Regions from separate parts of the Homo sapiens genome. Here region 1 is linked to region 2. The links are contacts of gene promoters, found by promoter capture Hi-C in blood cells and fetal thymus (Javierre and others, 2016). All regions are on one chromosome and are shown on one strand. Each heading gives the region's core, a stretch centred on a gene start or on the middle of the fragment in contact. The rest is flanking DNA. Distances are from core to core; before and after follow the strand shown.

Region 1 (5,055 bases), core at 1,247-3,746, 990 kb before region 2:
ATCTTTAAAATTTTTGTCAACCTGCATGTAAAAAATAGTATCTTATTGTTATGTATTTCTTCTATTGCTAGTGAGGTTGAGTATCTTCTCATATGTTCATTGGTGTTTTTTTTTTTTTTTTGAGACAGAGTTTTGCTCTTGTCACCCAGGCTGGAGTACAATGGCAGGATCTCGGCTCACTGCAACCTCTGCCTCCCTGGTTCTAGCAATTATTCTGCCTTAGCCACCCGAGTAGCTGGGATTACAGGTATGAACCACCATGCTCGGCTAATTTTTGTATTTTTAGTAGAGACAGGGTTTCTCCATGTTGGCCAGGCTGGTCATGAACTCCTGACCTCAGGTGATCCACCCCTTGGCCTCTCAAAGTGCTGGGATTACAGGCATGAGCCAACACATCTGGCCTCTTTTTTTTTTTTTTTTTTTTGAGATGGAGTTTTGCTGTTGTCATCCAGGCTGGAATGCAATGGCATGATCTCGGCTCACTGCAACCTCTGCATCCCGGGTTCAAGCGATTCTTCTACCTCAGTTTCCCAAGTAGCTGGGATTACAGGAACCTGCTACCACACCCGGCTAATTTTTGTATTTTTAGTAGAGACGAGGTTTCACCATGTTGGCCAGGCTGGTCTCGAACTCCTGACCTCAGGTGATCCACCCACCTTGGCCTCCCAAAGTGCTGGGATTACAGGCATGAGCCACTGGTTCCGGCTTCATTGGTCATTTGTACACTTTATCAGAGCCAAAAGGCCGAGAAGCGATCATTCATTGGTCATTTGCATATCTTCTTCTGTAAATTACTTATTCATATTTCTTGCCATGTACACAAAAATAAAACATTTATTTTTCTCTGGGTTGCTTTTCTTTTTCTGATCACTTGTTATAAACTATTCTCATTGCTTATCAAAAAGCTTTATTTTGCCGGGCGTGGTGGCTCATGCCTGTAATCCCAGCACTTTGGGAGGCCGAGGAGGGTGGATTGCCTGAGGTCAGGAGTTCGAGACCAGCGCCAACATGGCAAAACCCTGTCTCTACTAAAAATACAAAAAGATTAGCCATGCAGGGTCATGTGTGCCTGTAATCCCAGCTACTCAAGAGGCTGAGGCAAGATAATTGCGTGAACCTAGGAGGTGGAGATTGCACTGAGCCGAGAGCGCGCCACTGCACTCCAGCCTGGGTGACAGAGTGAGGCTCTGTCTCAAAATAAAAAAAAAAAGCTTCATTTTGCAAACCCTTCAATCCTGCAATCTTACCTCAAGGAAGGAAATAATTGGTCAAATATGCAAATATGTACGTACAAGGGACTTAGCGCACATTGTTTATAACATACAAATATTTGGAAGCAATTTAAAGTCCAAGAACAGAGAAGCAGGTAAATGAACTATAGTAAATCCAGACAGTGGAAGAAGATGCAACAGTTAAAAATGATGATATATTTCTATGGATTCTATATTTATTGGTATAGAAAGAGATTTATAACAATAAGGTTAAAAATTTTTATAAAGCACTTTGTTAGTATGCTCTCATTCTAGTAAATATACATTTATGTATATAATAACATATATATCATCTGAAAGAATATATTCCAATGTATTTAACATGGTTATTTGTGGGTAGTATAATTATAGATTTTTTAAAAAGTGTTTTTAATTTTGTCTTATTTTTGTACAATTAAAAATTTTTGTTTACATTTAAAAAAAGGAAAAATGTTCTCAGAATTGAACCCAACACTCAAATCAGGTTACAGTGAAACCATTGAGTCCCCCAATCAATGCAGGGAATGAGACCTAGCTTTCCATTAGCTTTTGGGGCAGCTTCATTCCTTTACTGCCATAAACAGAGCTTCTAGCCCACTAAAACCTTCACATCGGTTTAATCTTTTCACATCAACTGCCATTGCTTTACTAGTTTGGTTCATTTTTTTCTATCTTTTTTTTTTTTTTTTTTGGAGACATGGTCTGACTGTGTTGCCCAGGCTGTGGTGCAGTGGCACTCCATAGCTTCATAGCTCACTGCAGCCTTGAACTTCTGGGCTCAAGCAATCCTTCTGCCTCAGCCTCCCGAGTAGCTAGGACTACAGTCACATGCCACCATGCCCAGCTAATTAAATTTTTTATTTTTATTTTTACTTTTAGCTATGGAGTCTTGCCATATTGCCCAGGCTGGTCTTGAACTCCTGGGCTCAAGCGATCCTCCTGCCTCAGTCCCCTAAAGTGCTGGGATTACAGGCGTGAGCCACCACACTCGGCCGAGGTTCATTTTTCTCATGTGAAAGACTTGACATTCATCTCTGCCCACACTTTGATCATATCAGAAAACAACCTGTGCAGCCGCTTTCTGATTGCTGAAGCCGCTTCATTCTTCCTCAGCAGGACCCTTTGAGATACAATTGAAACTTCATGTTTGAGAATGCCCTGTCCCTTTTAAGCACTATAGATAATTTTCCTTGGAACATTCTGAAATCTGACTTCCTGAAATCTATAAAAATTACATCTGACAATCTTTTTTCAATATTCTAGTAAACGCAATTGTGAGTAGAGCAAGAATTTACTAGGTGCTCTGCTTCTGGCAGAAAGAGACTCATGTTAGTGTCCTGATTCTTGGAGACCTCTGGCACTACTGTAACTTGCTTTTGATGTTTGGCAGTCTGAACTAAGAAAGCAGCATCTGTGTCCTCCAATTATCTTAGTATCTATTTCTGTTTGTTTCTCCTTTTATCCCCATCCAAACATTTCCACCTTCAGTTCTGTGGTTTCCTTTTTGGCATACATGCTATTGTTGAGTCCCTTCAATTAGATTCACTTCCTCTGAACAGCGTTATCTTTCCACGGTCCCCTCCAGTCATGGGATCCACATGATTGACTTATCTATCTTCTTGTCATAAAATTCAAGTTCCTCTCCCACTCTGGTCTTCTGTAATATAGCCAGCACTCCCCAGACTTTAGGATTTTAATAATATTAATTACAAATACAGGAAAAAATTCTAAAATTGATATGTTTGGAAACAAAAAATGACATTCCCTCTCACCCCCAAACAATCGTAGAATATCAGCATCTTTTTATAAAATAACAATAGTTTAATCCTGAAAGGGTTAGAAAGGATATAATTTCAGAATTTAAAAATACTAAAAAAAAAAAGGCACTATTTTGTTATGAACCAGAAATACTTTATCATGGACCAGCTCCAGTCTGTGGATCTATGTAGGAAGCCACTGCTATAATATATGGTTTTGCAGTTACATTTGGACACTTTCCTTGAACATTTTAGAAAGTACATGATGCCCAGTTTTTGTGTTAGTTACCTCATAATTTATCAGAGGCCCATAAATCTATCATAAGTTGTGAGCCCTCTCAAAAATTCTTTTCCCAGACACAACACATGGTGTCAGCTGGTCAAACTGAGAAGATGAAAATATCACCTCTAACGCCATATCCTTCAGGATCCTTTTCAGCCACTAGCATGTCTCAGGATTCTTCTGGTTGTGTGTGATTTGTTCTCATATTGTTATAGTTTGGATATCTGACTCTTCAAATCTCATGTTGAAATTTGATCCCCAATGTTGAGATGGGGCCTAATGGGAGGTGTCTGGGTCATGGGGCAGATTCCTCATGAATGGCTTGGTGCTGTCTGTGTGGTTATGAGTGAGTTCTTGTTCTAGCAGTGCCTGGGAGAGATTGTTAAAACAAGCCTGGCACCTCACTTGTTTCTCTCTGGCCTGCGCTGCCTTGTCATGTGATCTCTGCACACTCCAGCTCCCCTTACCCTTCCAGCATGAGTGGAAGCTTCCTGAGGCCCTCACCAGAAGCAGATGCTGATGCCATGCTTCTTGTACAGCCTGCAGAACTGACAGGTTTTCTTTTCTTTATAAATTACCTGGCCTCAGGTATTCCTTTATAGCAGAAGAAACAGACTAAGACACATATATACCAACTAAAATATGTGGTTGCTGAATTATCACAAACTCTCCATTAGGCCTCAGAATATTCCAGGAAGAAGGAGCATCAGCCATCAGTAAGGTGAAGTCTACAGATCTCCTAGGCCTTTAGCAGAGTCACCAACCAAGATAATGGGGTCCTTGTGGGTTGGGGAACAGACTCTGTGCACCTGCTGACATCTGTTAATCCTCCTTAGTATTCTCTCCAGGAATGAGGAAGGTCTTTCCTCCTTAACCCTAGTGAAGAGTGATATTTAGCAGGATGATGACAAAGATCTGTCTAGCATAACAATGCTGAACTTATACTATGAAAAACACTTGGGGTGGAGCCAAGATGGCCGAATATGAACAGCTCCAGTCTACAGCTCCCAGCGTGAGAGACGCAGAAGACGGGTGATTTCCGCATTTCCAACTGAGGTACCAGGTTCATCTCACTGGGGAGTGTTGGATAGTGGGTGCAGGAGAGTGGGTGCAGCGTACCGAGCGTGAGCCGAAGCAGGGCAAGCCATCGCTTCACTTGGGAAGTGCAAGGGGTCAGGGAATTCCCTTTCCTAGTCAAAGAAAGAGGTGACAGACGGCACCTGGAAAATTGGGTCACTCCCACCCTAAAACTGTGCTTTTCCAATGGTCTTAGCAAACTGCACCCCAGGAGATTATATCCCGTGCCTGGCTTGGAGGGTCCTATGCCCACGGAGCCTCACTCATTGCTAGCACAGCAGTCTGAGATCAAACTGCAAGGTGGCAGTGAGGCTGGGGAAGGGGCGCCCGCCATTGCCAAGGCTTGAGTAGGTAAACAAAGTGGCCGGGAAGCTCGATCTGGGTGGAGCCCACCGCAGCTCAAGGAGGCCTGCCTGCCTCTGTAGACTCCACCTCTGAGGGCAAGGCATAGCCAAACAAAAGGCAGCAGAAATCTCTGCAGACTTAAATGTCCCTGTCTGACAGCTTTGAAGAGAGTAGTGGTTCTCCCAGCACGCAGCTAGAGATCTGAGAACAGACAGACTGCCTCTTCAAGTGGGTCCCTGACCCCTGAGTAGCCTAACTGGGAGGCACCCCCCAGTAGGGGCAGACTGACACCTCACACGGCCGGTTAATCCTCTGAGACAAAACTTCCAGAGGAACGATCAGG
Region 2 (4,505 bases), core at 45-2,544:
AGTAGTCATTTGCATTACAAAGATATTTTGTAGTTAAATGAAAGATAAATGCATCTCAAACCATATATAGAGCGAAAAGTCTTTATCAAGCAACCTATTTAACAAAAAGAGTGAAACAAACACATTCCATCCCTCTATTTTATCATCTTGTTCAGATACTTGAAAATCTGTAAATGTCTTTAGAGAGAGTTGCTGTTTGATAGACTGCAATACATAGATATTACACACAAGCACACTAAAGATCAAGTCCTGCATTAATCAATGATTTTATAACAAACAATAAAAATTCCTCTGTGACCTCATACCAAAAAAAAAACCCAATCCCAAACCAATGAACCATATAAATCAACAAATAAATCTAAATGATATCCTGGAGCAAAAACAGGCATAAATGTTTCTTGGAGTTTTTTATAATGAAATTATACCCATATTACATGGTGAATGAGGTGGTCCCTTGACCTAAAAGTCCCAGCCATGTGAGCACAGGGGTCAGACAAAAAAGATCAAGAGAAACAATGTATTCAGTCAGGGGGATTTGGCAACATCCATTCTATCTATCTCAGTCATTCAGAAAATAATTACGGTATTTATCACTTTTAGCATGCTAGACGGGATGATTATTAAGAGAGAAAAACAGAAATTAGACAATGCAACATAATGTACGTGCTCAGAAAAGTATAAGCATTGTCCTCAGGGATCCGGAAAGCCTTCTTGAAGGTGAAGACACTCAAACTGAATCCTGAAGGAAAAGTGGGCACTACCTATGTGAAGGGAGCAGAAAAGATAGTGTGTGCGTAAGTCCCAAGTTAGAGCACACTACTGTGAGAAGCTTGAAGAGTGTCATGCCTCCCAACAATAAGAAGGAATTACAAGTGGTACAATAGCGATATAAATAAGGGCCAGATGAGGAATATTTTTGCATGATATGTTAAGGAGATGAGATTTTAGCTGAGGAAAAAGGGGACAATGATAGTAGGTGAAGAAAAAGTAGATGTGGTCATTATAGGGTGTTTGTTCCACACTGCTCTGCATCAACTTTAGCCCCTCCTTGGCGAACTCACTTTTTGGTTGGAATTTTCGGTACTTCTCTATCACTCTCATGTGTCCCTCTTCCTTCATCTGGCAAATCCTGGCTTTCAGTATCTCTCAATGGACAAGAGTTTCCTCCCATCTAGGAAACTAACCAGCCTCTGGAGGACTTCTCCTTTTAAGTAAACCTAAATAACTAATGGTGACACCACCTCCTCTTTTAAAAAACAATTTGACTCTATCTTGTTTATCTCATAATTCCTAGGCATCAATCATCCGACAAAAGCATTCACTTACAACATCATTGTGCTGTGTTTCTCTTGTCAAACGTCACCATTCATCTTAGCAGACTACAAAAAGACATGGGAAAGACCAAAAACACATCGCTGGATGCCGTGGTGACAGATTTCATTCTTCTGGGTTTGTCTCACCCCCCAAATCTAAGAAGCCTCCTCTTCCTGGTCTTCTTCATCATTTACATCCTCACTCAGCTGGGGAACCTGCTCATTCTGCTCACCATGTGGGCTGACCCGAAGCTCTGTGCTCGCCCCATGTACATTCTTCTGGGAGTGCTCTCATTCCTGGACATGTGGCTCTCCTCAGTCACCGTTCCTCTGCTTATTTTGGATTTTACTCCTTCCATCAAGGCTATCCCGTTTGGTGGCTGTGTGGCTCAACTGTATTTCTTTCACTTCCTGGGCAGCACCCAGTGCTTCCTCTACACCTTGATGGCCTATGACAGGTACCTGGCAATATGTCAGCCCCTGCGCTACCCAGTGCTCATGAATGGGAGGTTATGCACAGTCCTTGTGGCTGGAGCTTGGGTCGCCGGCTCCATGCATGGGTCTATCCAGGCCACCTTGACCTTCCGCCTGCCCTACTGTGGGCCCAATCAGGTGGATTACTTTATCTGTGACATCCCCGCAGTATTGAGACTGGCCTGTGCTGACACAACTGTCAATGAGCTTGTGACCTTTGTGGACGTCGGGGTAGTGGCCGCCAGTTGCTTCATGTTAATTCTGCTCTCGTATGCCAACATAGTAAATGCCATCCTGAAGATACGCACCACTGATGGGAGGCGCCGGGCCTTCTCCACCTGTGGCTCCCACCTAATCGTGGTCACAGTCTACTATGTCCCCTGTATTTTCATCTACCTTAGGGCTGGCTCCAAAGACCCCCTGGATGGGGCAGCGGCTGTGTTTTACACTGTTGTCACTCCATTACTGAACCCCCTCATCTATACACTGAGGAACCAGGAAGTGAAGTCTGCCCTGAAGAGGATAACAGCAGGTTGAAGGACTGAATGAAAATAAGTAACTACATCTGCATCATTATCACTGCCACTCTCTTCAGCTACTGCTGCATGTGACAAATGCCCAATAAACTGCTAAGGATTTAAAGTGAATTTATTTTCATTTTCTTTGGCAGAAAATTCTGAATTATTTCGACCCAAAATCTTTTCCCCTAATTAAACTGGTTCAGGTTGTTTTACATAATCTTTTAGAAATAAATGGATACATTATTTCTATCACCTCTATCTTGTGAGATGAGAAAATGCCTTACCAAAGGTTGAATAAGATGAGAATGTGTCAATGTCTTAGAAAGTATATCATGCCAGAAAATTTGAAAAGAGTAAAAAGGGGGCTCCATAACCCCTTGTTTCATTGTCTTTGCTCCTAATCCTAGACCCCTCTAAATTCCATTTCTTTGCTTGTGCATGGCATGAATATTTCCAAGCACTTGAACTTGAAAATTCTGGATTATTTGTGTTTTCTTCCTGTCCCTCGCCCTCGTGATGTGCTAACACATCAGATTCTGTCTCCTCAAAACTATGAAACCAGCTCAAACTGATTCAGTGTAGACTGTCTCTCTTAATTCTTGACTAGTTCTTCCTCATCTAGACCACAATCAAAATTACCCTCTGAAACACAGAATCTGTAGGACTCTTCGGCGAAGGTAGAATGAATAAGGCCAGGCTCCTTAATCTGGAATTCAAAATCCAATGCAATCTTGGCTTCACATACATGTTCTCTTAAGCCATTTCCTCTGCTTCCCTCTCCCACCCTCACTGATTTATTGCCGTTCCGTGAGCATGCTCTATACTTGCCTGTACTCTTTTGCTCAAGCTCTCTTCTCTGCCTGGAATATAAGTCCTCCCTCTCCATATTGACCAAGTGACAATTTATGCTTCCTTCAGATCCATATTAAATACTTCCTCATCTGTTTTTCCCAGGCAGGACTTAACTCCTCTTCCCTGGTATTGCCATGGCTTCTTTAGTATAGACCTTGCCCCAGTCTGTCACGTATTACAGTCAAGAATTTATCTCCTACCGGGCGCAGTGGCTCACGCCTGTAATCCCAGCACTTTGAGAGGCCGAGGTGGGCAGATCACGAAGTCAGGAGTTCAAGACCAGCCTGGCCAACATAGTGAAACCCCCATCTCTACTAAAAATATAAAAAGTTAGCCAGGCATAGTGGCATGCACCTGTAATCCCAACTACTTGGGAGGCTGAGGCAGGATAATTGCTTGAACCCAGGAGGTAGAGGTTGCAGTGAGCGGAGATTGCACCACTGCACTCCAGCCTAGGTGACAGTACCAGACTTCATCTAAAAAAAAAAAAAAAAAAAAGTCTAAAAAAAAAAGGAATTTATCTCTCTTTCCACTTCAAATGGATTGTGAGCCCTCAAAGGACATAAAGCATTCATTTGTGTTTGTCTGCCTCTATTGCCTAATAACTACGAGCAGACACAGAAATCAATATTTGCTGCTGAATTTTTTTTTTTTTTTTTTTTTTGAGATGGAGTGTCGCCCTGCCGCCCAGGCTGGAGTGCCGTGGCGCGATCTCGGCTCACTGCAAGCTCCGCCTCCCGGGTTCACGCCATTCTCCTGCCTCAGCCTCCCGAGTAGCTGGGACTACAGGCACCCGCCACCACGCCCGGCTAATTTTTTGTATTTTTAGTAGAGATGGGGTTTCACCGTTTTAGCCAGGATGGTCTCGATCTCCTGACCTCGTGATCCACCCGCCTCCATCTCCCAAAGTACTGGGATTACAGGCGTGAGCCACCGCGCCCGGCCATTTGTTGCTGAATTTAAACCGCACTGCAAAAGTCTCTTGAAATGTATCTTAAACTGAAGAAATTATTGTCAGTTCTGCCGATTACCTGTCCTGGTCTCACCTGAAAAAAGAAAAAAAAAAGAGAACATTTAAGGGAAACTGAAGACAGAAGATTCAACTACATGGCAACCTAAAAGCAAGCATGGACAGTTCCTTGGTGAATAACCAAAAACAAGGTAAATGTATTCTTTCATTCGCTGGCATATTTTTCACTTCTTTGGATGTGTGGTATCATGTTGGCCCATTTTAACAGTAAAATTTAAACAAATGCATGGAAAGATTCAAAATTCGTAAAGGTAAAAATATATTAATGTGGATATAAGAATCACACTGTGCTATACAGAAACACCATAATATCAG

What was found. The method cuts DNA at HindIII sites, captures the fragments that hold promoters and counts their contacts. A CHiCAGO score of 5 or more calls a contact.
Region 1: a contact is called between a fragment that was not itself captured here and the fragment with the promoter of OR10G2 in region 2, in 1 of 17 cell types (activated CD4 T cells). The highest score is 6.0, in activated CD4 T cells.

The regions. Positions count from the first base shown.
Region 1 is chr14:22,620,958-22,626,012 of GRCh38, reverse strand. No RefSeq gene overlaps it. Among named protein-coding and RNA genes, the nearest start is that of OR6J1, 21 kb to the left of the region's middle. The HindIII fragment of the contact is 2,566 bases long and covers 1,214-3,779 here.
Region 2 is chr14:21,631,729-21,636,233 of GRCh38, reverse strand. OR10G2 (olfactory receptor family 10 subfamily G member 2) reads left to right here and starts at 1,294. Exons shown (of 1, transcript NM_001005466.2): 1 at 1,294-2,398. The coding sequence starts at 1,392. The coding sequence ends at 2,324. It also overlaps TRA. The HindIII fragment of the contact is 5,968 bases long and covers 832-4,505 here.